Linked DNA regions of Homo sapiens: regions 1, 2, 3, 5, 6 and 7 are each linked to region 4. Evidence: promoter capture Hi-C in 16 types of primary human blood cells and fetal thymus (Javierre and others, 2016). All regions are on one chromosome and are shown on one strand. The core of a region is centred on a gene start or on the middle of the fragment in contact, and the rest is flanking DNA. Distances in the headings are between cores, read along the strand shown. Region 1 overlaps TRAPPC9 (trafficking protein particle complex subunit 9). Region 2 overlaps TRAPPC9 (trafficking protein particle complex subunit 9). Region 3 overlaps TRAPPC9 (trafficking protein particle complex subunit 9). Region 4 holds the start of KCNK9 (potassium two pore domain channel subfamily K member 9). Region 5 overlaps TRAPPC9 (trafficking protein particle complex subunit 9). Region 6 overlaps TRAPPC9 (trafficking protein particle complex subunit 9). Region 7 overlaps TRAPPC9 (trafficking protein particle complex subunit 9).

Region 1 (3,363 bases), core at 150-2,649, 590 kb before region 4:
ACTGATTCACGACGTTTAAGTGTCATGTCCAAGAACTCACAGGAGAACCTAGATCTCACTGTACATTTCATGTTCCTGGCAGGGCATGGTGGAATTCAAGGCAGAAGGGACAATAAGAGCATTACGTGTAGCACATCATCTTTTTTTTTTCTTTGAGACAGGGTCTAGCTCTGTCACCCAGGCTGAAGTGCAGTGGTATAATTAGGACTCACTGCTGCCTCAACCTCCTGGGCTCAGTTGATCCTCCTGCCTCAGCCTCCCGAGTGGGTGGGACCACAGGTGCATACTACCACACCCACTGATTTTTGTATTTTTTGTAGAGACGGAGTTTTGCCATGTTGCCCAGGCTGGTCTCGAATTCTTGGGGTCAAGTGAATCCCCTGCCTCGGCCTCCTAGAGAGCTGGGGTTACAGGTGGGGACCTCTGCGTCCAGCCAGCACATTGTCTTGATGAGCATTTCTCATATATTACTAGCTCTAGGATTTCTTAGCTTCTGTAAGGGTCTCATAATAAACTTCATTAACAATTTGTAAATTATCCGAATGCCTTAAAAAATAAAGTGCTTCAGAGGAAATAAAGTTGTTTGCTGAGATAAAGGGCATAACTAGGGTAGGAGTACTCAAAGAACCTTGTGCTTTTAAAAATGGTAATCATTTCTTTTATTCTAGTTGTGCTTTATAAGAGGCTATCATATGTTACCTTATTTAGTTTTTCCAGTATTTTTGGGAGATTTCATTTTTATCTCCCTTTTACAGATGAGGAAACAAACTTAGAGAAACGACTTTTAGAAGTAACTAAAAGTTACTCAGTTAGTGACAAGCTTGATTTCACATCACAGACCACGTGTCCTGTTCCCATTAGTACCCTATGGTTTCCTCTCACGTGCACAGTAGGTGTGGGACAGACCTATTACCTGGACCTCACAGTCCTCACCCTCGGCTGGTTTTTCAGTTTAGTTCATGCAGGCAAGACACAAACGTGAGAAGTTGACTATCGAGACTAAATGTGAATAAACGCTCTCTAAAACTGTACATCTGTCAGCAGGGGTACCTGGTTACTTACACGTTGAACTCGAATGAACAATAAACACTGGGCTAACTGGGAGTGGGGTGTGGGGTGGGGGCCCCGCAGACCCTGGGGAAGCCCTCTGGAGGCTCAGACACAGCCTCCATCTGAGGAGCCGTGTGGGCTTTGCAAGGAGTGGCTCCAGCTGTTCTAGCTGTTCACTGTTAGAATGAGAAGAAAATAAAGAGACATGGGGTCATGCCCTTGAAAAACTGCAGTCAATACTGTATTTTGGAAAATTTCTGAAAATGTGAGCACTAACTATATAATCTACTCTAGAATTTGTGTGTATCTGTATGTGTGTATGTGTGTGTATGCGTGTGTATATGTGTATGCATCTGTATGTGTGTATGCATGTGTATATTGTGTGTATGCGTGTATGTGTGTGTGTCTATGCATGTGTGTGTATGAGTGTGTGCATGCATGTGTGTGTGTGTATGCGTTTTTAAAATGCCATTTTTAGTCTATTGATTCTGAAAGACACCCCAATCTTGTCTCTCCTGCCACTGCTTCTCTGATCTGGAGAACATGAGGTGACAGGAAGTGTAGGCGCTGGGTAGACGTGGTGGATGAACAGGCAGGGCCTGATGGCAGCCCCAGATGTGCTCCAGCGTGTGTTGCGGTAAGCAGGAGAGAGCTGTACAAATCCTGTCCTCACTGTGTTTTGGGGACGTCGTTTCCTGGCCTCCTGTGGGAACTCCACCTTTCCTCTCTGGAGGGCGTCTTCCGAGCTCCGTGGGGATGGGCAGGCCACCCTCAGGGCTCCTCTGTCTCCCCTGGCCCCGGACTTGCTGTCCTACGAGTGCTCAGGCTCTTCCCCCTGGGACCTTCTAGAGTCTCTGGCTGCTCTTTTGTGTTCTCATTGGGGTTGGTGATGAACTGTCTCCCCTACGGAACTTTTGAGGAAAGCTTCAGTTCTTTCGTTGAGAAAAACTTCCAGAGGTGATTTAGGAGACTGGAGGTGTGAGACTCCTCTTCTCAGGATGGGCCATGTGATTTGTGGGGCCCAGTGCAAAATGCAAACATAGGGCCTTTGTTCAAACATCACTAGGAATTCGAAGACAGCAACAGCAGAGCGTGAACCCAGATGCCAGGGCACAGGGCCCTGTGCCACTGATGGCATGGATTGTAGGCCCTGCCTCTCTGCTTTTCCTTTTCAATCTTAAGAAATTGTTGGCCGAGTGTGGTGGCCCACGCCTGTAATCCCAGCACTTTGGGAGGCTGAGGCTGGTGGATTGCTTGAGCCCAGGAGTTCGAGACCAGCCTGGCCAACATGGCAAAACCCCATCTCTACACAAAATACAAAAAAATAGCCAGGCCTGGTGGCGGGCACCTGTGGTCCCAGCTAGTTGGGAGGCTGAGGTGGGAGAATCACCTGAGCCTGGGAGGTCGAGGCTATAGTGAGCCAAGATTGTACCACTGCACTCCAGCCTGGGTGACAGAGCAAGACCCTACCTCAAAAAACAAATAAAAAGACATTGTCAAAGATTCCTTTTGTGAAAATTACAATCTGTATTTGTTGAAGAGGGCTTAAGCAAACATTATCCAGTGATTCTCAAAACTATTTGATGCTGATGCTGCCGGCATTATTATATTCCCTATTTGCAAATAAGAAAATTAAGACTGAACGAAATTTAAGTACCTGCCCCAGGTCAGATAGCTTATCAGTGACATTCCCCGGGCTCCATGCCAGGTTGCAGGACTCGATGCCCAGGGCCTTTTTTCTTTATAGTATGGCTTCTCACCATAGTAAGAAGTACCTGCTCATCTGGGCTGAGGACAAATTCAGTGGATGATGTAAGATTTTTTTCTGAGATATAACGCAAGTTTCAGCCAAAATGCACATTATTTGTTTGGTAGGAAAATGCAATTTATATCCCATAGCTTCTAATATCTTTTTGGCAGTGTACTGATCAGTGAGTGCTTGTGCAGAAGCTTGACAGATCACATAACTTTAACCTAAATTTCCAGTCTCTCTAAATGAACCTCGGTGTATAATTGGGGGAGGTATCATCACAGCAGGTGGCATAGGGTTTTGGAGATGAAGAAACTCTTGAGGGTAGTGTTTGAGACCATTTTCCACTTTAACTTGGGATAGTTCACGAGTCTTTGTGTGTTGGCTGGTGTGGCCATCATCTGAGCTACATCCATGCAAAGATGACTGCAACACTGGCCTCAGCTTGAGTGTGTTGGGTTGAAGGCCTTCTGTCATTTGTGATAGGTCTTTGTGGTGCTGCCAGGCTTAGTGCCAAGGTCGACTGCTGCCCCAGAGGCAGCGTGGTGGCCTGGAGAGGCTGT
Region 2 (3,335 bases), core at 130-2,629, 730 kb before region 4:
GCTTGGCAGTACATTTTTGAAATTAAGACCACTCCAGCTCACATAACTGGCAATGATTATTGCTGACTTAAAATTATAGAGCCTACAGTTGCCTTCTTAGCATTTTTAGTAGTGAGAGAATTGAATAGTGCTTAGTCAGAGTGCTTTCTGGGTGGGAGTTGTATAGTAATAAAGATACATTTTCATGTATTTTCTAGACATTACAAGAAGCGGTGCCAAGGCCGCATGCGGAAGCACGTGGGGGACCTGTGCCTGCAGGCAGGGATGCTGCAGGACTCCCTGGTGCATTACCACATGTCGGTGGAGCTGCTGCGTTCTGTGAATGACTTTCTGTGGCTTGGAGGTAAGATGAGCTGATGAAGATGATCTGATATGTAATTGTTTCAACTGTTAATTAAAATGAGAGGCTGGGTGCGGTGGCTCACGCCTGTAATCCCAGCACTTTGGGAGGCTACGGCAGGCCAAATATGAGGTCAAGAGATTGAGACCATCCTGGCCAACATGGTGAAACCACGTCTCTACTAAAAATACAAAAATTAGCTGGGCGTGGTGGCACGCGCCTATAGTCCCAGCTACTCGGGAGGCGGAGGCAGCAGAATTTCTTGAACCAGGAGGCAGAAGTTGCAGTGAGCAGAGGTTGCACAACTGCACTCCAGCCTGGCAACAGAGCGAGACTCCATCTCAAAAAAAAATAAAATAAAATAAAAAAAGAAATGAGAGGAAACGGCAGAAGAAATTCCCCAAAAAGAAGGGATGAGGGAGGAAAAGCAGCCAGCCTGTGCTGGTTGCCACGAGCAGTGGCCTGGGATGCTTCCCTGCTGTATCTGCTGCCCTCCTCCCACCCTGCCATGCGTCCTCTGAAGGAGGCCCTGCCCACACTTTCCCTTTTCCTCTGTTCTTAGTATACCTTGCCCTCTGCTTTGGATGCCGTTCCCCATGATCTTCACCTCTTAGACTCCTCCCTCAAAACCTCCTCCATGTGTCACATGATGAATGGATAAACGAAATGTGGTATGGGCATACAGCGGAATATTATTCAGCCATGAAAAGGAGTGAAATTGTGATACCACTGCAGCACGGATGAACCTTGACAACTTTGTGCTAAGTGAGAGAAGGCAGGCATGAAAAAGGCCGCAGATTGTATGATTCTATATATATGAAGTGGCTAGAATAGGCAAATCTATAGAAGCAGAAAGTAGACAACTGGTTCTAGGGGCTGGGAGGAGGGGGAATGGGAAGTGACAGTTAACGGGCATAAGGTTTCTTTCTGGGGTGATGAAAATGTTCCAGAGTCAGTTAGTGGTGATGGTTGCACAGTTGTGAATATACTAAAAACTGCTGACTTGCACACTTTAAGTGGGTGAATTATATGGTATGTGAACTCTATGTCAATCTTAAAAATTAAAAGAAAGGGAAGAAGAAATCCTACTTCAAAGCACAGCCATCTCTGATCCCCCGCAGCAGTCGGCAGAGCGGGTGCCCTGCCTGAGATGTTGCTGACACTTCGTGGTGGAATCGGATGTCTGTGTGTGGTCTTCCCTTTGGGGACTGCGCCTCCTGGAGGTGGTCCTGGGAGGATGGACTGGCTGAGTCCATTGTGTGGGTAAGGACTAAAACAGGGTTCTTTCGTTGAGGTTGACAGTTTAGCAAGGACACCTGTCAGCCACTTATGATAATACAAGTCGGAATGAAGTAATGAGGTGAGTTCTGTAACAGAAGTTTAACGAGGTGCCGTAGAACATATTAAATATAACAAATTCTTTCGTTCTTGGGGACGGAGTCTCGCTCTGTTGCCCAGGCTGGAGTGCAGTGGCATGATCTTGGCTCACTGCAATCTCCGCCTCCTGGGTTCAAGCGATTCTCCTGCCTCAGCCTTCCGAGTAGCTGGGACTTACAGGCATGCACTACCACACCCGGCTAAATTTTCTATTTTTAGTAGAGACGGGGTTTTGCGATGTTGGCCGAGCTGCTCTTGAACTCGACCTCAGCTGATATGCCTGCCTTGGCCTCCCAGAGTGCTGGGATTACAGGCATAAGCCACTGTGCCCAGCCAAATATAAGAAATACTTCAAACGGCCAGGCATGGTGGCTCATGCCTGTAATCCCAACACTTCTACAAAAAATAAAAAATAAAAAAATCTTACTTCACCTCACTTCTACAAAACAAAATTAAAAAACATTAACTGGGTGGAGACCAGCCTGAGCAACATAGGGAGACCTCACTTCTACCAAAATAAAATAAAATAAAATAAAATAAAAAGACATTAGCTGGGCTTGGTGGTCTGTGCCTGTAGTCCCAGCTACTTGTGAGGGTGAGGCAGGAGGATCGCTTGGGCTCAGGAGGTCAAGGCTGCAGTGAGCCACGATCGCACCACTGCACTCCATCCTGAGCAAGAGTGAGACTTTGTCTCTTAAGAAAAAACCAAAATAAAACTTAAAATGGACTTAAATTTAGTTTTTTAAAGAGGCTAGGGAAATAGAAGTGGGGAAAGAAAGGGAGTAAGAATTAGGGATGGAAAAGAAAAGAGAATCAGATAAAGGATTATGCAGGCTGAGAAAGACATAGTTTTACTTGGTTTTCTTGAAAGAGCATTGTCTCCCTAAGTACTCCTTATTGTATCAATTAGAGAATCTGTGCATCTCCCAGTGGGCTCTGAGACTAGGGCATGTGCAGCAGGTGCTTCTCCAGAAAGACTGGTACTGCCCATATGCCTTCCCCATGCGGCGCTGGACTGGATGAGGAGGGCTCCTAAAGGGCACACAGAGAAGGACGGTGCTGTGTGCCGTGGGCCTCTTCCATGCTCAGCCTCTCAGAAGTGGACAGTGGAGTTGTCCACAAGCTACTTAGGCCTGACATCACAGCAGACTGAATGTAGAAGCTGATAGAAGATCCAGCTGACTTGTATTAACTCTGATATTAAAGAAATGTGTGAACATGTCAAATAATGCCATTCCTCCAGTACTTTATTTTTGTTTTGGAAAACAATTATTTTTCATAAAACTGTTAACACATGACAAGCTTATTATTTTATTTTTTATTTTTATTTTTTTGAGTCAGTCTCACTCTGTCGCCCAGGCTGGAGTGCAATGGCGTGATTTCAGCTCACTGAAACTTCCATTTCCCAGGTTCAAGCGATTCTCTTGCCTCAGCCTCCCGAGTAGCTGGGGCTACAGGTGTGTTTTATCATGCCTGGCCAATTTTTGTATTTTTAGTAGAGTCAGGGTTTCACCATGTTGGCCAGGCTGGTCTTGAACTCCTGACCTCAAGTGATCCACCCACCTTGGCTTCCCAAAGTGCTGGGATTACTGGCATGAGCCACTGCGTCTGGCCTATT
Region 3 (3,676 bases), core at 425-2,924, 610 kb before region 4:
AATCCATAATCAAATGTCCAGGGTTGTTCCTGAGTTCATCTTTATGAACTTTAAAAGGGGGATCATAATGCCTTTCCCCACTTCTTTGGCAGGTATTTTGTAAGAGGGTATTATATGCCTATTTTGGATAAAAAATAATGAAGTTTGTTATTAATATATACCAGAATCCCTTGCCTTAAAGATTTTATAGTCTAAAGAACATAGTACAATATTTGGCACATCGTAAGTGCTCAGTAAATGTAATTGTGGGTAGGGACATGACTTTCTTCCTTTTAAGGAGCTTATAGTCCAAATCTTTTATTTTTCGTTGTTAAACTTAAAAAAAAATTAAAGCAGAAATCACTTATAATCTTATCACTGTGAAAACTTTGTAAGTTGTCCTGTCCTTTGTAAAGCCCTTCAGAGACCATGAGAATCCAGTAGCAAAGAGCACTTCTAGCCTCTGGGTTTTAGTCTCTAAACACTTCTTTCCACTAAAGGGAATGAGAGCTCCTTGGAGAAGTGATTTAATTCTAGGCCTGGGGCTGGATATGAACCAGAAACAAAGGGATCAAAGAATAATGGGACCTTATCCAAAGGACACAGGAACCAACCAGAAGGGACTCCCACTGGCCAAAGATGGTGCCTACATCAAAAAAGAAGAAAGCTTTCAAATAAACAGTCTAACACTGCATCTTAAGGAATTAGAAAAACAAGAACAGACTCAACCAAGGTTAGTAGAAAGAAGGAAATAATAAAGATCAGAGTGGAAATAAATGAAATAGAGATGAGAAAAACCATACAAAAGATTAATGAAATGAAGAGCTGGTGTTTTGAAAAGCTTAACAAACCTTTAGCTAGATTATGAAAAAAAGAATAAATGTCAAATCAATAAAATCAGAGATCAAAAAGGAGAAATTTACAACTGATAACACAGAAACATAAAAGATCACAAGAGACTATTACAAACAATTATATGCCAACAAACTCAGTGACCTAGAAGACGTGGATAACTGCGTGGACACATACAATCTGCCAAGAATGAATCATGAAGAAATAGAAAATCTGAACGACCAAAAACGAATAAGAAAATTGAATCAGTAATAAGAAGTCTCCCATCAAAGAAAAGCCCGGGACCTGAGGGCTTCACTGCTGAAACATTTAACAAAGAACTAGTACCAATTTTTCTCAAACTACTTCCAAACTCATTCTGTGAAGCCAGCATTACTTTGGTATACTAAAACCAGAGAAAGACACACCATCAACAAAAGAAAACTAATCTCAAAAGACAGATATCCCTGATGAAGATTAGATGCAAAAATCTTCCACAAAATACTGGCAAACAAAATTCAACAGCACATTTGAAAGATCTTCCACCATGATCAAGTGGAATTCATCCCAGGGATGCGAACATGGTTGAACATAGATGTGACATATCACATTAACGGAATGAAGAACCAAAACCATATTATCATTTCTATAGAAGCAGAAAAAGCATTTGACAAAATTCAGCATCCCTTCATGATAAAAACTCTCAACAAATTAGGTGTTAAGAATACTCACAAATAGTTTCCAAATTCTGGAAGAGTCAGGTAGAATGAAACAAATATGTTCTAAATTTTGTTCATAGGAGTACACTCAATCATTAAAAGCTGTTAATAGCTCAAAAGAAAAGTTTCCTTGACTCTGAAAAAACAAAGGACCAGCAACGTTTTAAGCAAAAAATCAAAAAGATTACTTCAGTCTTGTATTAGTTCAGTCTGTAGTTAATTCCCATTCTGCTTGATATTCCTGAACATTTCAGTTCTCCATGAGTCCTGAAAGTTTTTCTTCTATTCTGATGTCACAGTCTCCAAAGTTATCAGAAACTTGTATTCAACAGCACCTGGTAGAGTTTTATAGCTGATTATAAAACCACCTTCTAAAGACCAAAACAGACAACAATTGTCTGTGGATGACAAAAGGTTTTAGGGCAGCCATAGTCAAAGATACAATCCATAAGGAAATTTGTTACCTCTGTGGCACACAATAATTTAACATAACAATTATAATTATTACTGATAATGTACACTAAGTCATATCAGAATTATAGGAGTTTCCCATGATTTTGGAACACATACCAATAACATATTTGTGTAAATATAGCCTAAAGAAAACTAAACACCATTTCATATTTGACAGTGTTTCCTGTGTAATTTTTATACCAAATAAGACAAATTATGTCACTTTTGGACTTTAGGGAACCTAGTATCTTAAAGGATTAATTAGTTCAGAAAAAGATATAATTTATAATTTGATTTTGGAAAGGTCAAAGGTTTAAAACACTTATATCACAGATCATTGTAAAATAAGTCATTCATTTGACCAAAGTAATAACTCAAGGATTTTTTTAGAAAGGTGAAAACCTTCGTTCTTTGAGAAAGAAGCCTTAATTTTCCAAACAATATTTCCTAATAAAATAGCATGAAACCAATTAAATTTGTTTTTCAAAATTTTATAAACTATAAAATTTTAATCTTGAACACAAGATATAACTTTCATAAGCTTTTTATAATCTTTATAACCTTTACTAAGGAGTTGGTTAATGCTTCAAGAAGACCTTGTTAATCTGACACAGGGGCTCATATGCTGGTCTTGCATCAGTGTGTCTTTGACAATAATGATTAATTTATAGAGAAACTGAACTTATTTTATCTCTCAAAATCAGCCCTTAAATCTCACATGCCCACCAAAAAAAAAAAAAAAAAAAGACATACAAATGGCCAAAAGATGTATGAAAAAATGCTTAACATCACTAATCATCAGGGAAATGCAAATGAAAACCGCTATGAGAGATCACCTTTCTCCAGCTGGAATACCTATTATCAAAAAGTCAAAAGATGAAATGTTGGTGAGGAGGTGAAGAAAAGGGGTTCTTTACACGCTATTGGTGGGAATGTAAATTAGTACGGCCATTATGTTAAACAGTATGGAGGTTCCTCAAAAAACTTAAAAATAGAACCACTGTATGATCTTCCATTCCGCTACTGAGCATATATCCAAAGGAAATGAAGTCAGTGTCGAAGGGGTGACTGCATGCCTGCATTTATTGCAGCACTGTTCAAATAGCCAAGATACGGAATCAACCTAAGTGCCATTCAGCAGATGAATGGATAAAGAAAATGTGATATAGATACACAGTGGGATACCATTCAGCCATAAAAAAGAATTAAATCCTGTCATTTGCAACAACACAGATGGACCTGGAGGGCATATGTTAAGTGAAAAAAGCCAGGCACAGAAAGACAAATCCCTCATGGTCTTCCTCAGGTGTGAAATTTTTAAACGTTTGTCTCATGGAATTAGCAGAATAGAGGTTAGAAGAGTCTGGGGATGGTTGGGAGAAGGGAGATGGGGAGAGGATGGACAGTGGATACAATGCTCTAGTTAGGAGAAGTAAGTTCTGGTATTCTAATGCACGGTTGGGTGACTATAGTTCACAAAAAGGTATATTTCAAAAGATCTAGAAGAGAGGAATTTGAATGCTCTTATCACAAAGAACCGATAAATGTTTGATGCAGTGGATACGCTGATGACCCTGATTTGATTGTTATACAGTAAATGCATTAAAACATCATACTGTACCCCAGAAATATGTGCAATTATTATGTATCCATTAGAAATAAAAAAGGATGTGATAACAATCAATGGAAACATC
Region 4 (3,680 bases), core at 776-3,275:
GAAGCAGGGAATAGGTGCGCCCCAGCCCGAGCCTCGTGTTCCTACCCCAGGTGGTCTCGAGGGGGCTATCGCGTGGCTCAGGGCTGCATCCACGGCGCACCTTGCGCCCAGCTGTGGGGAACCAAAGAGTGATTATATATATCAAAGAGTGATTATATATATATATATATATATATATATGTGTGTGTGTGTGTGTGTGTGTGTGTGTGTGTGTGTGTGTGTGTATTTTTTTTTTTTCCTTCAGTAAAGCAACAGAGAGGTTACTGGGTCGGGGGATTGCGATGTCTTTCCCCGCTGTCCTGACTCCAAAAGTGGCGGCCCATGCTGTCCTTAGCGCTCTCCAGGGAAACGACTCGGGTCTGCAGGTGCTGGCCCAAGCGGGCTGTGCCGCTGGGAGGCGAGGGGGCCGAGGCAGCCCTCGGGACCCCACCACTCCACGAGGCCATGTCCCTGGCCAATGACACGCTCCCGCGCCGGGTGGCTAGGTGGGGGGTGGGGGGTGGGGAAGACTTCGTGAACCGCTGCTGCCGCTCTCCTGTGTGCCCATGGCCCCCTCCCCTTCTGCTCCCCACTCTCTGCCCAATCTGCCTGAAGCTGTCAGCCTGCCATCTCTGGCTGAATCCCGTTTTCCTCCTCCAACCCCGAGTCCCTCAAACTCTCCACCCGCCAGGGCTGCTTGCGCTCTTGGGGAGCGGGGCTAGAAGGACCCAAGAAGCCGCGTTTATCCTCCCATCCCCCGCCAAAACCCGCCGGCGGCTCCGCCCCCGCCCCCTCCCTGGCGGCTCAGGCCGCCCCTCCCGGGCTCCCTCCGCGTGCGCCCTGCGCCGCGCTGGGTCTGCAGCGGGAGCTGCCACAGCAGCCTCGCCAGCTGGCTGGGGACCAGGCGGGAGGTGGCGCGCCCTGGAGGCTGCGGGAGGGAGGGAGGGAGGGAGGCCCGGCCTCGGCGTAGCCCGGCCCCCGCTCCCCGAGGCCCTCCCGCCGGAGCGGGGCTGCCAAGCGCACACACACACACACACACACACGCACATACACACGCGCACACACACATTCGGGCTCCCAACGGCGCGCACGCACGTAGCGCCCGGGGCAGACCAGCGCGGCGGCCGCCTCCCGGGACGCCCGGACGCCGGAGGGCCCCGACCCCCGCGCGGCTCATGCGCCCGCGTCCGCCCCGCTGCTCCGCGAGGCCCGCGGGACCCCTCCCGCCGCCGCCGCCGCGCCCGCCGCCCCCGGAGGAGCGGGCTGGCCGACCGCCACCGCGCCGTCCCCCGGCCGCCCCCGAAGCCGCTCCATCGCGGTCCCTGCCGTCCTGGGGCCGCGCCCCGCTCCCGCGCCTTGGGGGTTGAGCCGAGCAAACTTCGCGCACCGGCCGACGCCCGGCGGGGACCCCGCTGCGCACCCGCGCGCCCGGGTGGGCGCTGGGCGCGCGGACCTTTGGGGAGCGGGCTGCCCCTCCCGCTGCACCTGCTCGGCCCCCTCCCCGCTTGCAGGGGACTCCAGAGACACCGCCACTTCGCAAACTTTTCCTCCCCACCACCGAGAGGGGGCGAGGAGGGGTAAAAGGGGAAGCAGGTTCCGCTGGGCGCGCGGACCTGCAGGCTCCTTGCTGGGCACCGCCACCCGCGAGCTGGACCCACAGGGGTACCGGGCCCCGCGGCCGCCCTCCGGCCGCTTTCTGGCTCCGGTTCCCGTCCCTGCGTTTCCCGCGGGAGCGGGGGGCGGGGTGCGGAGGGCAGCAAGGCCCGCGCGGTACCCAGCGGGGCCGCCCTGCATGGCCCTGCGCAGTGGGGCGGGCTGCTTCGGCCGGGTCTGGCGCAGGGTGTCGGGGTTCCCGGACGCCTGGCCCCGGCGCTCGAGCAGCCTCCTGTGCCTGTCCGCCTTCTCGGCTGAGCCCGGGCCCGCGCCGCCCCTGCCCCGCCAGCCGCCTCGCGGTGGCGGTGGCTGTGGCGGCCCCAGCGGAGGGGGCCCCCCCCAGCCTCCCCGCCCCCCGCCTCCCCGCTGCTGCTGCTGCTGCTGCCGCCGCCGCTTACAACTTGGAGGCGGCGGCGGCGGCGGCGGAGGAGGAGGCGGCGGCGGCCGCCGGGCGCTGCAGTGGGACGCGCGCGGCTGTGAGCCTGCGGGACATGCCCCCCGCGCCGGCTCCTTGCTGGCGGCCATGAAGAGGCAGAACGTGCGGACTCTGTCCCTCATCGTCTGCACCTTCACCTACCTGCTGGTGGGCGCCGCCGTGTTCGACGCCCTCGAGTCGGACCACGAGATGCGCGAGGAGGAGAAACTCAAAGCCGAGGAGATCCGGATCAAGGGGAAGTACAACATCAGCAGCGAGGACTACCGGCAGCTGGAGCTGGTGATCCTGCAGTCGGAACCGCACCGCGCCGGCGTCCAGTGGAAATTCGCCGGCTCCTTCTACTTTGCGATCACGGTCATCACCACCATAGGTAAGGGCTGGGCGCGCCGCTGGGCTCCCGCGCCCCGGGAGGAGTCCGGGGAGGCGGCTGAGCGCGCCGCGCCGGGCTGGGTGCAGGGCGTCGAGGGTTAAACGCAGCCTCCCTTGGGGGCCTTCCCGCAGCGCCCCCTCCTCTCTAGGGAGCCCCCCCTCCGCGGCGCCTCCGAGCCTCACCCTTCGGGGACCCCACCCGGTGCTCTCCACCGCGCTGGTGTCTGGGCCGGGCGTGCGAGCCCCGAGCGAGTGTGCCTGAGCCGGGAGGGCGGAGGCGCCACTTTTGCGAAGAGAGTGGAGCGCTAAGAATAATCCCATAGCAGACACCCACCCACCCACCGCCCCGGCGCGGGCTGGGCTGCGCGGGGCTCTGAGCCTTACACTTACTACCTCTCTGGGAGTTGGAGAGGGCTGGCCTGGCACCCATGGCTCCTAGAGGGACTCAGGTGGCAGGGGAGTGCGCCTGGGGCGTGAGAGGCACTGACCCTCCGTAGCCCCTGGGCCCCGCTCCAGGCTTCTCTGAGCTCAGATTTCATCTCTCTTCCCCCCGCCCGGCTCCTTTTTTCCCCTGAGTTCCAGTTCTGGAGCTTGGACTTCCCAGGCCCCTGGGAGGAGAGAGTTTGCTCTCTGGTGCTTGCGTTGGGGGTGGCAGCCCCTCAATTGCTCTCAGTAGAGGTGGAGAGTGGGGGCAGGGCAGAACCTGCCCACTCCCTAGGCTGTGACACTGGGAAAGGCCAGTCTAGACATTGCCCAGAAACCAGGGAACTTGAGCCCCAGTCACGAGAGGGGGTCCAGCTGGTAAACTGCAGGGATGCCCGCCAGCCCCACTGCCAAGGGCGCTATTCACAGAGCAGGGTCTCTGGTCGGTCCCGAGGGCAGTGTCCCCTCTAAGGCTGGGGGCTGGGAGGACTCCCGGACGTTATACTTGGAGACCTGTGGGAGCTGGGGCAGGTACCTTCATTCGGGTGGACGTGGTGGATACCCTGCATGGCAGGAGGCAGGGTGGTGTCTCTGTGGTTCACTTGCCCCAGTGAGGCAGGCTGCCTCTCTAGGGCCATCTCCTTGGACTTGCCAAGGCCAGTGTGTTAGTGGGGGTGGTCTGTTTCCTGCACCCCTCAGGGCTTCACACCCCTGTGCCCTGGGCAGGGACCTCCTCCTTCCCCCCTCCCTTCTTCCCAGCTCCTCCTGTCTCGCTTCTCTGGACCTCCTCCTCTAATTTCCCTCTTGATATTTTTCTTTG
Region 5 (3,596 bases), core at 520-3,019, 660 kb before region 4:
GGTTCATGTAAACCCTGGGCTTGGGTTTCAGTGGGTGGAAGATGCTGCCCAGCTCTTCGTCAGTGACAAGGTCCCTGCCCCATGCCTTGGCTCCCTCCTTCCACACTCACTTCTCTGGGACACCTGTGCCACCTCCTCCCGCCTTCACGCCATCTCCTCCTGCTCCTCGGCCGCCACACTCCATGGCTTTTCCCTCCACCTCTCAGGCTTCTTTTCAGCCTCCTGTGTTGCCTCCCATTTCCTTAGCCTGCCTTTTTAAAAATATAAATGTCAAAGCATAACATTTACATAGAGGAGTGCACGACTCATAGGAATGTGGCTCAGTAAATTCTCACCAAGTGGCCACCGCTATAATCAACACCCAGATCAGAGACGGGCAGGAACAGAACCCAGGGCCCCTCGTGCCCCTTCGAGTCACTGGGTAACTCCATCCCCCCTTCCAGAACCAAAGATGAGGTTTGCATGTGTTGGCTCTCATGGGGCCACGCGGTGTTTCTGCCCCTGTTTCAAGGTTGCCTTTCTCCCGGGCTCCTTTCTTGGCCTTCATCTTCTCTTCTTACACTGCTCCTGGGTGCTATCTGCTTTTTGAGTTTTAGTCATGACCTGTTTCCCTACGCGCTTGGGGCTCAGCTGCCCCAAACCTGCCTTCCTCCTTGTACCCCTGGCCCTGGCCCAGTGTGTGGTGCCAGCTGGGTTCTTGGGGAAGTGCTGTCTGCTGGGGAGACTGATGTGTGCAGAGTGTATTGGGACGTACTCATGGGATCAGCCCCGTAGAAGGGAAGAGATGGAGGCGAGACTGGACAGTGGGAGAAGCTGGGCCTCAGTGCTATATGGACACAGGCCTCAGCTGCACGGGGAGCCCTGCACTGCCGTGGCCTGCAGACGTGTCCCATGTTGTTCTGAGGGGGCCGGGCCATTCTCCTCCCTCACTGACCAGCAGTTGAATGCAGTCTACCCTGGGTGATGTGGTTCTCTTCAGCAAGGAGACAAGGCTTCTGCTGACCCAGCAGGGCCTGTGCAGCTGGGAAGCCGTCGGAGAGATCTCTGGCGATGGGAGGGCCGGGGCTTCCTGTCCCCGTGCCAGGCCCTGGGTGCTCACTGCTCCCAGGAAAGGGTAGGGTCTTGATGAAGGGCTCTTGCCCGTCAAGGACAACTTCTGGGGAGGCAGCACTCTCCCCTGGGGAACGGGCCTCTCCTCCCTGCAGGCCGTCTGGGCGACTCATTACTGCCCCCTGCAGTGCTGTGCCGTCACTGCTGCTGTCCAGGTGGCGACCCCACTCCCTCAGTCTCATGTCCTGGCACCTCCCAAATTTCGTGCTTCTCTGTTTTCACATTTCTAAAAGCAGCACATCTTTCTCTCCAGCCCTCCACCCACTGCTTTCCCCTGGCTGTTCTCTGTCTTTGAGCAGGCTCTGGCTCCAGGGTAACGTGGGGTGTGCATCTCTGAGGGTGGTTGTGAGGTTTAAATGCACTAATTCTGGCCGGATGTGGTAGCTCATTCCTGTAATCCGATCTCTTTGGGAGGCCCAGGTGGGCGGATCACCTGAGGTCAGGAGATCGAGACCAGCCTGGCCAACATGGTGAAACCCCGTGTCTACTAAAAATACAAAAAATTAGCCAGGCATGGTGGCAGGCCCCTGTAATCCCAGCTACTAAGGAGGCTGAGGCAGGAGAATAACTTGAACCCAGGAGTGGCGCTTGCAGAGAGCCAATGTTGCGCCATTGCACTCCAGCCTGGGCGATAAGAGTGAAATTCTGTCTCAAAAAAAGAAAGAAAGAAACCTAGTATACATTAAGCAGTCCTCATAAAGCCCATCTTCTCACTGCACCTGTTGAAACACTAGCATTCTTTAAAGGAAACATTGATTTCCCTACAGTGATTTCCACGGCCATCTCTAAGAGAAAGGAATTCTCCTTTCGTGAACCCCTGTGGTTCTTTGTTGCCAAGGTTCTGAAGGCACACACCACTTATTGTGGCCGTTGGCATCCTCGTGTGGAGTAGCTGTTGTTTTCTGTTGAGGACTTCTGGTGACCCAAGTGAATCTCTGCTCTGACCGGGGCCCCTGCGACAGCCGTGCAGCTCCTTTTCTGCGTGTATTGGGTCGCTGTTGCTTTTGGGGCTGCATTTGAACTGTGCTTTTCTTGATTGTACCTGCAGAGTGAGCAGGTGGCCAGCAGGGCCACCGTGGAAGCTGGCTCCATGGCCCATTTGCACTCCGGCGTTTCGGTGACGGGAGGGAGCAGCAGGCCGAGGCAGAGCTCCCAGAGCCACCCGTGTCTCCTGCTGGGGTGACTGTGGCTCAGTGGCGGCTTGGGCAGTGGTCTGGTGTTACCTGCTCGAGTGAATGTTTGCTCTCCCCAGCCCCTGGGAGTGCTGCCCACCTCCCCTACTCCCCTGGAATTTCTTGAGCCTCCCCGTGATCCAGCAAATCTAAAGAGGTAGTGCCTGGACTCTGTGTAGGGGCTTAGAATCTCGGGTGCCATCCCTGACCCATGGCATGTCCCTCTGCCCCTGTAGCCAGGACTCTGTTCTCTCCTGGTGGCAGTGTCCCCACATACCTCACCTCAGTAAGCACAGTCCCCACGGTTGGTGAGTTGTGGTGACACGGCCCTGAGCCCTTCGCCTGAGCCGTCAGTGTCACTCCTTCGCCTGCTGTGTCTGCTGCATCTTGAACTTCTTCAGCACACACCTTCCTTCCCACAGCAGGGCCGGTGCACCTCCCCTGTCCCCACACCCTGCCCCTTCACCATGTGACTCCTCTTGGGCCTGGCCTCCTCTTGAAAGCCTTCACAAGTCCCTAGCTAGACCAGGGACTCTGGGCCTCTGCTCTCTTTCTTCCTGCACTTGTCGGTCATCAGTTACGTATTTAGTTGGTCCATGCTTGTCTCCCTCCATGGGAGAAAACCTCATTCTGCCTGCTGTCTACCTGGAGCTGGACCTGGCAAAGGCTAGATGCCAAGTGCATGGCTGCTGAGGTGTGAGTGATGTTGTCACAGCCCTTGCCTTCATCGTGATTGCTTATGGGGAAGTTGATTCTGACTTGGGTCCTCAGACATTTTTCAAAAGCACATTCTTGGCCGGGCATGGTGGCTCACTCCTGTAATCCCAGCACTTTGGGAGGGTGAGACGGGCGGATCACCTGAGGTCAGGAGTTCGACACTAGCCTGGACAACATAGTGAAACCCCATCTCTACTAAAAATACAAAGATTAACCGGGCGAGGTGGTGCACGCCTGTAATCCCAGCTACTTGGGAGGCTGAGGCAGGAGAATCGCTTGAACCCGGGAGGTGGAGGTTGCAGTGAGCCGAGATCATGCCACTGCACCCCAGCCTGGGTGAGACTCCAGCTCAAAAAAAAAAAAAAAGCACATTCTTTTTACAAGGAACACATGTGTGTTTGTACACTGTATGTGTGTGTATACGTATGCTGCATCGTGTTTTTCTGTTGGAGTTTGTATTTCTCAAGGGCATGGGCCATATCTTCCCCTTTGGGTACCCTGCGGTTTCCATGGGACATGGTGAGATGACTGAGCGTGTATGCAGGATCAATAATTGGAGTGACCCATTCCACTCTTCTGTGTCAGGCTGATGAGCCG
Region 6 (3,550 bases), core at 847-3,346, 670 kb before region 4:
AGGAGTTTAGGAAAGGAGTGATGGGGGGTGGGGGACGTTTTAGCTGTGTATGGTCTTGTTTAATTGGCTTTTAATTTCAGGCTGCATGAGTTGTCATTGGAGGGACTAGATTTTATGGAGAACAGACTTAAAGAAACTCAGAACTTGGCTGGGTGCAGTGGCTCATGCCTGTAATCCCAGCACTTTGGGAGGCTGAGGCGGATCACCTGAGGTCAGGAGTTTGAGACCAGCTTGGCCAACATGACGAAACCCTGTCTCTACTAAAAATACAAAAAGTAGCCGGGTGTGGCGTCGGGCACCTGTAATCACAGCTCCTGAGGAGGCTGAGGCGGGAGAATTGTTTGAACCTGGGAGGCAGAGGTTGCAGTAAGCCGAGATTACGCCACTGCGCTCCAGCCTGGGCCACAAGGGTGAAATTCTGTCTCAAAAAAAGAGAAGAAAAAAAAAAGAAACTGAGAACTCTGGTATGGAAAGATGAATGTGGAGAAAAGCTGTAGTCAGAGTTCAAATCATCTTTAAAGTACACATGAACTCGCTTGCTCACTAAACCCAAAGATGGTAAAATAGGCAGTATTTCTTGAAGCCAAAGGAGTGGGTTTTTCAGGTTATCCAAGAATGAATCAAAGGCTGGAACTGAGGTGATCAGGGGTCAAGCGCGGACTTTGCTTGGCCATCTCTTTTGGATGGTGCACTCAACAAGGGCACTGACTGTTTACAAAGTGTCCTTCCTCTAGCATGTGGTGGGTATACCTGGTAGTCTAGGAACCTTCCAGGTATCTGTCCAAGGCATAGGGCACAGCATCCCTGTTTCAGCCATCTCTCCATCCATCTTCTTCCCAACACTGTGATTTTTTTTTTTTTTTTTTTGAGATGGAGCCTCGCTCTTGTTGTGCTGAAGTGCAGTGGCGCGATCTCGGTTCACTGCTAACTTCCACCTCCCAGGTTCAAGTGATTCTCCTGCCTCAGCCTCCTGAGTAGCTGGGACTATAGGCACCCACCATCACGCCCGGCTAATTTTTATATTTTTAGTTGAGATGGGGTTTCACTATGTTGGCCAGGCTGGTCTCGAACTCCTGACCTCAGGTAATCTGCCTGCCTTAGCCTCCCAAAGTGCTGAGATTATCGGCATGAGCCACGTTGCCTGGCCTCAACACTGTGATTCTTTTTTTTTTTTTTTTTTTTTTTTTAGATGGAGTCTTGCTCTGTGCCCAGGCTAGAGTGCAGTGGCGCAATCCCGGCTCACTGCAAGTTCCGTCTCCCAAGTTCACGCCATTCTCCTGCCTCAGCCTCCCAAGTAGCTGGGACTACAGGTGCCTGCCACCACGCCTGGCTAATTTTTTGTATTTTTAGTAGAGACGGGGTTTCACTGTGTTGGCCAGGATGATCCTGATCTCCTGACCTTGTGATCTGCCCACCTCATCCTCCCAAAGTGCTAGGATTACAGGCGTGAGCCACCGCGCCCGGCCTCCAACACTGTGATTCTTTATGGACCTATCTCCTCTACTACTTCATGAAGTTTTGAGGGACCAGGTCTTATTGAAGTTTTTGTTTTGTTTTGCTTTGTTTTCATTCTTACTTTTGAATGATTAAAACTGAAAATGGATCCAATTACTTTAGACAGATGCTTTATAAAGGAAAATCCTTGGTGCATGCCTCATACCCCTACTCCGGGATATGAGAAAGTAGGTTATGTTTTTAACAAACTTTTTTGATAGACATATATGGAAAGTTTGTATAATTTTGAAGATGTATTTTCTCTCCATGTAATTATGGCTGGAAATAGCCGGAGAGAGGAGCAGAGTGTGTTTTCAAACCTGGGAATGTGTGGGGCCTGCTGTTTCCCATCCGGCATTCTCCCACGGTCATCATTTAGTTGAGTGCGGCCACCAGGCTGCCCCTACACATCTGTCACTGACTTGTTCTTCTGATCACTGCAAGTGCCCACGTTTGAGAAGGCTGATGAGGGTTAAGGCATTTTCTAGAGCATCAGTGGCTGGTTAACTTGGGGTTAGAACTTGTGGTGTCAAAGGCATTAACTAACAGTGATATTTCTGTTTCTTGAACACTCACTGAGAGTTTTAGGCTTATGCTCAGTGTTTGCATTATTTCATTGAGTCTTTTTGACAATCGTAATTAGATTTGATGATCCCTGTTTCTTAGGGATATGCAGATGTGGCCCTGGAACTCAGGACTTTACAGCTCCAGGCTGTATTCCTCCCTCTCCATCCTGCCAGAGACAAGTCCTGTGTCTGGAGTTTCCCTCTGATCTTGTCACTTTATTTCTTATTAACAGAATAAAGCAGGTCTAAACTTACTTTCTACTTGGAAATGGAATGGTGAGTTAATATTTGGATCCCTCAGAGTCTGCCTTGTGAATAAAGCTCCTTGTCTTGAGTAGTCTTGGAGCCACTTTCGTTGGAACCTCACATAAACATCTGGGCCCTGAACTTGGACTTCGTGACTGTGCAGCCTATTGAAAGATTAGAACAAAGATGTGCTGATTAATATGCCCTAAAAGAGCAGCAGGTTGGAAATGAGTTTGGGGATTTCATCTCATTTCAAGATTTCCTGAGGATCTTGGCCTAGCTTTGCCAGGGACCATTTTGTACTCCCCGGCTCCTTGTGCCATAGGTGCCTGTGTCGACCAAACATGGCTTTGTCCTGAGGCTCTCTGGGCTCATGGCTTCTCAGTCAATTGTCTGCCTAGTGCCCAAAAGCAGTTGCGCTCGAGCTTTTCCCATTAAGGAACCGTTTTAGGGCTTTAAAGTGATGTCAATTCCATTTGCAATGTAGTATTTATCATTTGACTTCTTATTACACTGAAATGATAAGAGGAATGAAGTAATATTATTACTGATCATAGTATTATTTACAACCTTTCATCTTAGATAGGTTCCATGAAAGAATCAATGGGAGTTCTAACGCATTGGTGGCCAAGGCATGTGACCTTCCCCGGCTGTCACCTTTATTTTAGATGGTGACCTCTTTACAGGCACTGGCTAAGATCAGTATTCGTCTTCTCTGCCCCCTTCTCTGCCCCAACATCTTTGATCATGTCTGGCACATAGTGGGTGCAGCTGAAGGTCTGGGCATTTCCAGATTTGTGATGAAGGCGTTAAGTACCCCCACCTCTTCTTTTTCTTTTTTTCTTTTCTTTTCTTTTTTTTTTTGACATGGAGTTTCACTCTTGTTGCCCAGGCTGGAGTGTAATGGCACAATCTTGGCTCACTGCAACCTCCGCCTCCTGGGTTCAAGCAATTCTTCTGCTTCAGCCTCTCAAGTAGCTGGGATTACAGGTATGCACCACCACGCCTGGCTAATTTTGTATTTTTTAGTAGAGACGGGGTTTCTCCATGTTGGTCAGGCTGGTCTCGAACTCCCAACCTCAGGTGATCTGCCTGCCTCGGCCTCCCAAAGTGCTGGGATTACAGGTGTGCGCCACTGCGCCCGGCCAACCCCTGCCTCCTCTTTACAGTCCTCTTCCACCCCGTCCCTGGCTGCTGTCCTCCAGCACTGGGGCTTCTGTTCGCTGCTGTACTGCACACTCCTG
Region 7 (3,594 bases), core at 533-3,032, 630 kb before region 4:
GGACCTCGCCTCATTTTACTGTGTTTCTTGGGGCTGGGGAAGGGCAGGAAATGAAAGAAGTGGTGCATTTTCTACATATTTCCAGTGGCCCTCAGTTTTGGTGTTGCCTTTCTTTGCCTCCCTGTTCACATCAGCTGTCTCTCATTTGCCGCAGAGCAGAGCGTGGTGCAGACAGAGGCAAGCCAGGGTTGGGAATCTCGGCTGGCTTGCAGCCACAGACTATACACAGTAGGAATATCTGTTGAACAAAATCTTTTGTTGTTGTAACTGTGATCATTATGTCATAAATAAACAAGGGGCTTTTACTGTAATTGTTAAGTCCCGTGACCTCAGGGACGTGACACACAAGTATGCTTCATCATGGGGGAGAAAACTGAGCAGATGGAAAAGAAATTTTGGTTTCAAAAATTATGAAGTTAGTTATACATCAAAAGTAATAATTTGAGTTGTGAAAAAAAAAGGTTCTTAAAAATAAGGAATTACACAGTGAGTCATTGAGATTATAAAGTTAAAAAATATTGTTGGCCAGGTGCGGTGGCTTGCACCTGTAATCCCAGCACTTTGTGGGGCCAAGGCGGGCCTACCACTTGAGGTCAGGAGTTTGAGACCAGCCTGGTCAACATGGCGAAATCCCTGGATCTACTGAAAATACAAAAACTGGCCAGACATGGTGGCGGGAGCCTGTAATCCCAGCTACTCGGGAGGCTAAAGCGGGAGAATCGCTTGAACCCAGGAGGTGGAGGTTTTGGTGAGCTGGGATCACGCCACTGCACTCCAGCCTGGGTGACAAAGCGAGACCCTGTCTCAAAAAAAAAAAAAAAAAAATTGTGAAGACTTATGATGGGACTTAAGAGTGAAGCTCTTGATATATTCAAAATATAACAAAAATTTGCTCATGATTTCACATGGTTATATTTCCACTCCTGACCTCTGAACTTCAGTTTCCCAATGAAGGCTGGATTTGTCTCCTGAATGTCTCATAGGATCCTGCGGTTACCATATCCTCAGCTGAATTCATTCTCTTTTCCTTCTATGTTTCCCGTTTGAGTTAAGGGTGTTGGCATTTTCTTAGTGTGGGAAGCTTAAAACTTTGTCAGTCATCCCCAAGTTGTCATACTTATCCTGTATCCTATTAATTGCCTGGAATGCCCATTCTAATGCCTGAGTTTCTCTCATGTGGGGATTTCCCCTCTTCCCATCGTGGTCATGACTGTGGTTCAGACTCTCAACACCTATACTTGGAATAGTGCAGTAGACTCTTGACATCATGGTCCTGTTCCCTGGCTTTGCTCCTTCCAGCCTGTGCGTCACATTGCGGCCGGAGTTACCTCCTTAGAATGCAAGCTAAATCACATTCTCTTCCTTAAGAATCTGCAGTGTCTACCCTTTGTCTATCTAGTAAAGTCTCAACTCTTTCTCAAGGACATTCACGATTTGATTCAAACCATCTTTCTCAAGGACATTCACGATTTGAGTCAAACCATCTTTCTAGGCTCATTGCATACTTTTTCTATCCATGTAACCTATACTTCAGATACACTGAACATTTTTTGCTTTTTAAGTGTATCACATGGTTTTTCATGCTGCTTCTATTGTAGCATGCTCTGTTCTTGTACTTTCCCTGTTTCCTGTTATTAAGAAATTAATTTATTCCTCTGCACCTCCTTATTATCTTGCTTAGTTCTCAATTCAGCATCATTTTATTATACCTTCAGAATAATTTACCTATCCGATTCCCTCACTAGATTACAGACTCCTTGGGGACAGGGATCATGTCTGTTCACCTTTTATCTTTTATCATTTTGGGCAATGCTACTAGAAAGTAGTCAATACATGTGGAACTTATTTATTTATTTATTTATTTATTTATTTATTTATTTAGTGACAGAGTCTCGCTCTGTCGCCCAAGCTGTGGTACAATGGCACGATCTCGGCTCACTGCAACCTCCACCTCCCGGGTTCAAGCGATTCTCCTGCCTCAGCCTCCCGAGTAGCTGGGATTACAGGCATGTGCCACCACGCCTGGCTAATTTTTGTATTTTTAGTAGAGATGGGGTTTCACCACGTTGGCTAGGCTAGTGTCGAACTCCTGACCTCAAGTGATCCTCCTGCCTTGGCCTCCCAAAGTGCTGGGATTATAGGCGTGAGCCACCTTGCCGAGCCATGGAACTGATTTAATTTCACATTGCCTTTCTCAAATTATTTCCTAAAATGTATCAATTGAGACTCCACCAGGCAGACAAAGGAATTACGAGATTTTGCTGTTGTGCTTGAAGATGTGGGACTCCAGTTGAGCGATTTAAGATAGGCTTCTTCCTTATAGAGGGTGGATATTCAAGATTTGTTTGTCAAATGAATATGAAGTGAAATATGAAATAGTTTTAGAATAAAGGGAGATGGCTGAGCATATTACACATGAGAGATTGTGGTGGAGAAGTAGAAGGCACACTGAACTGAATGGGGGTGAGTTCTTTCTAAGCTTCAATTTCTCTCATCTGTAAACAATGGCACTTTTTTGGTAAGGTTTTGGGAATCATTTAGTAAGGCATATGTAAAGTGCTTGGACTAGTGCTTGGCATGTAGTAAGACCTCATTAAATGTCAGTTATCAATGCAGCTGTTGTTTGTAAAACATCTGTGTTACACTGGGAAGGGCTATAAATTCCCTTACTTTAAACTTCCACCTTTGTGGAAATGAAGGAAGTTCAAAGTTTTCTTATGCCATTGACATTTTATGATACTATGTTCTTCACTCATGGGGCATTTATAAACAAACCCTGATTTTTCGTTGTAAAACCTTTTTGAAAATTCAATTTTGAGCATTTAAAATATAGTTTTTATGGCCAGGCGCGGTGGCTTACGCCTGTAATCCCAGCACTTTGGGAAGCTGAGGCGGGTGGATCACCTGAGGTCAGGAGTTTGAGACCAGCCTGGCCAACATTGCAAAATCCCGTCTTTACTAAAAGTATAAAAATTAGCTGGGCATGGTGGTGGGTGCCTGTAATCCCAGCTACTGAGGAGGCTGAGGCAGGAGAAGCTTGAATCTGGGAGGCGGAGGTTGCAACGAGCTGAGATCGCACCATTGCACTCCAGCCTGGGCGACAAGAGTGAGACTCCGTCTCAACAACAACAACAAACAAAACAAAAACCTATGTATCTATATCTATATCTACATCTATATCTATATCTAGCTATCTACATATATATAGTTTTTATTATACAAGTAATATATGCTTCCTTTAGAAATCTTGGAAAACATAAACAGGAAAAAATTATGCATAATCCTATATAGGCAAGCCCTGTTAACATTTTAGTGTATTTCTTTTGTATTGTTTTCTGTTATTTTAAAAATTGGGTTAATTGCTTTCTTTCTTTTCATTCTTTTCTTTTTCTCTTTTTTTTTTTTGAGACAAAGTCTCGCTTTTTAGCCCAGGCTTGGGTGAAGTGGTATGATCTCGGCTCACTGCAACCTCTGCCTCCCGGGTTCAAGTGATTCTCTTGCCTCAGTCTCTGGAGTAGCTGGGACTACTGGCATGTGCCACTGTGTCCGGCTAATTTTCGTATTTTTAGTAGAGTTGGGGGTTTCACGATGTTG

Evidence for each region. Contacts are between HindIII fragments. The CHiCAGO score rates a contact against its expected background, and 5 or more counts as called.
Region 1: a contact is called between a fragment that was not itself captured here and the fragment with the promoter of KCNK9 in region 4, in 4 of 17 cell types (naive CD4 T cells, M2 macrophages, M0 macrophages and 1 more). The highest score is 5.4, in naive CD4 T cells.
Region 2: a contact is called between a fragment that was not itself captured here and the fragment with the promoter of KCNK9 in region 4, in 3 of 17 cell types (megakaryocytes, monocytes and fetal thymus). The highest score is 7.0, in megakaryocytes.
Region 3: a contact is called between a fragment that was not itself captured here and the fragment with the promoter of KCNK9 in region 4, in 3 of 17 cell types (erythroblasts, M2 macrophages and naive B cells). The highest score is 6.3, in erythroblasts.
Region 5: a fragment that was not itself captured here is called in contact with the fragment with the promoter of KCNK9 in region 4 in 7 of 17 cell types (megakaryocytes, fetal thymus, M2 macrophages and 4 more); the score reaches 9.0 in megakaryocytes.
Region 6: a fragment that was not itself captured here is called in contact with the fragment with the promoter of KCNK9 in region 4 in 1 of 17 cell types (megakaryocytes); the score reaches 6.1 in megakaryocytes.
Region 7: a contact is called between a fragment that was not itself captured here and the fragment with the promoter of KCNK9 in region 4, in 2 of 17 cell types (fetal thymus and megakaryocytes). The highest score is 5.6, in fetal thymus.

The regions. Positions count from the first base shown.
Region 1 is chr8:140,295,443-140,298,805 of GRCh38, reverse strand. All of the region lies in intron 11 of TRAPPC9 (trafficking protein particle complex subunit 9), which reads left to right. Among named protein-coding and RNA genes, the nearest start is that of TRAPPC9, 160 kb to the left of the region's middle. The HindIII fragment of the contact is 1,154 bases long and covers 823-1,976 here.
Region 2 is chr8:140,436,060-140,439,394 of GRCh38, reverse strand. It overlaps TRAPPC9 (trafficking protein particle complex subunit 9), which reads left to right. Exons shown (of 23, transcript NM_001160372.4): 3 at 198-343. Among named protein-coding and RNA genes, the nearest start is that of TRAPPC9, 20 kb to the left of the region's middle. The HindIII fragment of the contact is 3,285 bases long and covers 1-3,021 here.
Region 3 is chr8:140,314,286-140,317,961 of GRCh38, reverse strand. The region is part of intron 9 of TRAPPC9 (trafficking protein particle complex subunit 9); the gene reads left to right. Among named protein-coding and RNA genes, the nearest start is that of TRAPPC9, 140 kb to the left of the region's middle. The HindIII fragment of the contact is 1,703 bases long and covers 823-2,525 here.
Region 4 is chr8:139,701,468-139,705,147 of GRCh38, reverse strand. It overlaps KCNK9 (potassium two pore domain channel subfamily K member 9), which reads left to right and starts at 2,025. Exons shown (of 2, transcript NM_001282534.2): 1 at 2,025-2,438. The coding sequence starts at 2,156. RefSeq lists a silencer at 2,008-2,302. The HindIII fragment of the contact is 15,596 bases long and covers 1-3,680 here.
Region 5 is chr8:140,356,390-140,359,985 of GRCh38, reverse strand. All of the region lies in intron 9 of TRAPPC9 (trafficking protein particle complex subunit 9), which reads left to right. Among named protein-coding and RNA genes, the nearest start is that of TRAPPC9, 100 kb to the left of the region's middle. RefSeq lists a silencer at 1,145-1,204. The HindIII fragment of the contact is 4,499 bases long and covers 1-3,596 here.
Region 6 is chr8:140,374,191-140,377,740 of GRCh38, reverse strand. All of the region lies in intron 7 of TRAPPC9 (trafficking protein particle complex subunit 9), which reads left to right. Among named protein-coding and RNA genes, the nearest start is that of TRAPPC9, 82 kb to the left of the region's middle. The HindIII fragment of the contact is 8,881 bases long and covers 1-3,550 here.
Region 7 is chr8:140,332,937-140,336,530 of GRCh38, reverse strand. All of the region lies in intron 9 of TRAPPC9 (trafficking protein particle complex subunit 9), which reads left to right. Among named protein-coding and RNA genes, the nearest start is that of TRAPPC9, 120 kb to the left of the region's middle. The HindIII fragment of the contact is 1,398 bases long and covers 1,084-2,481 here.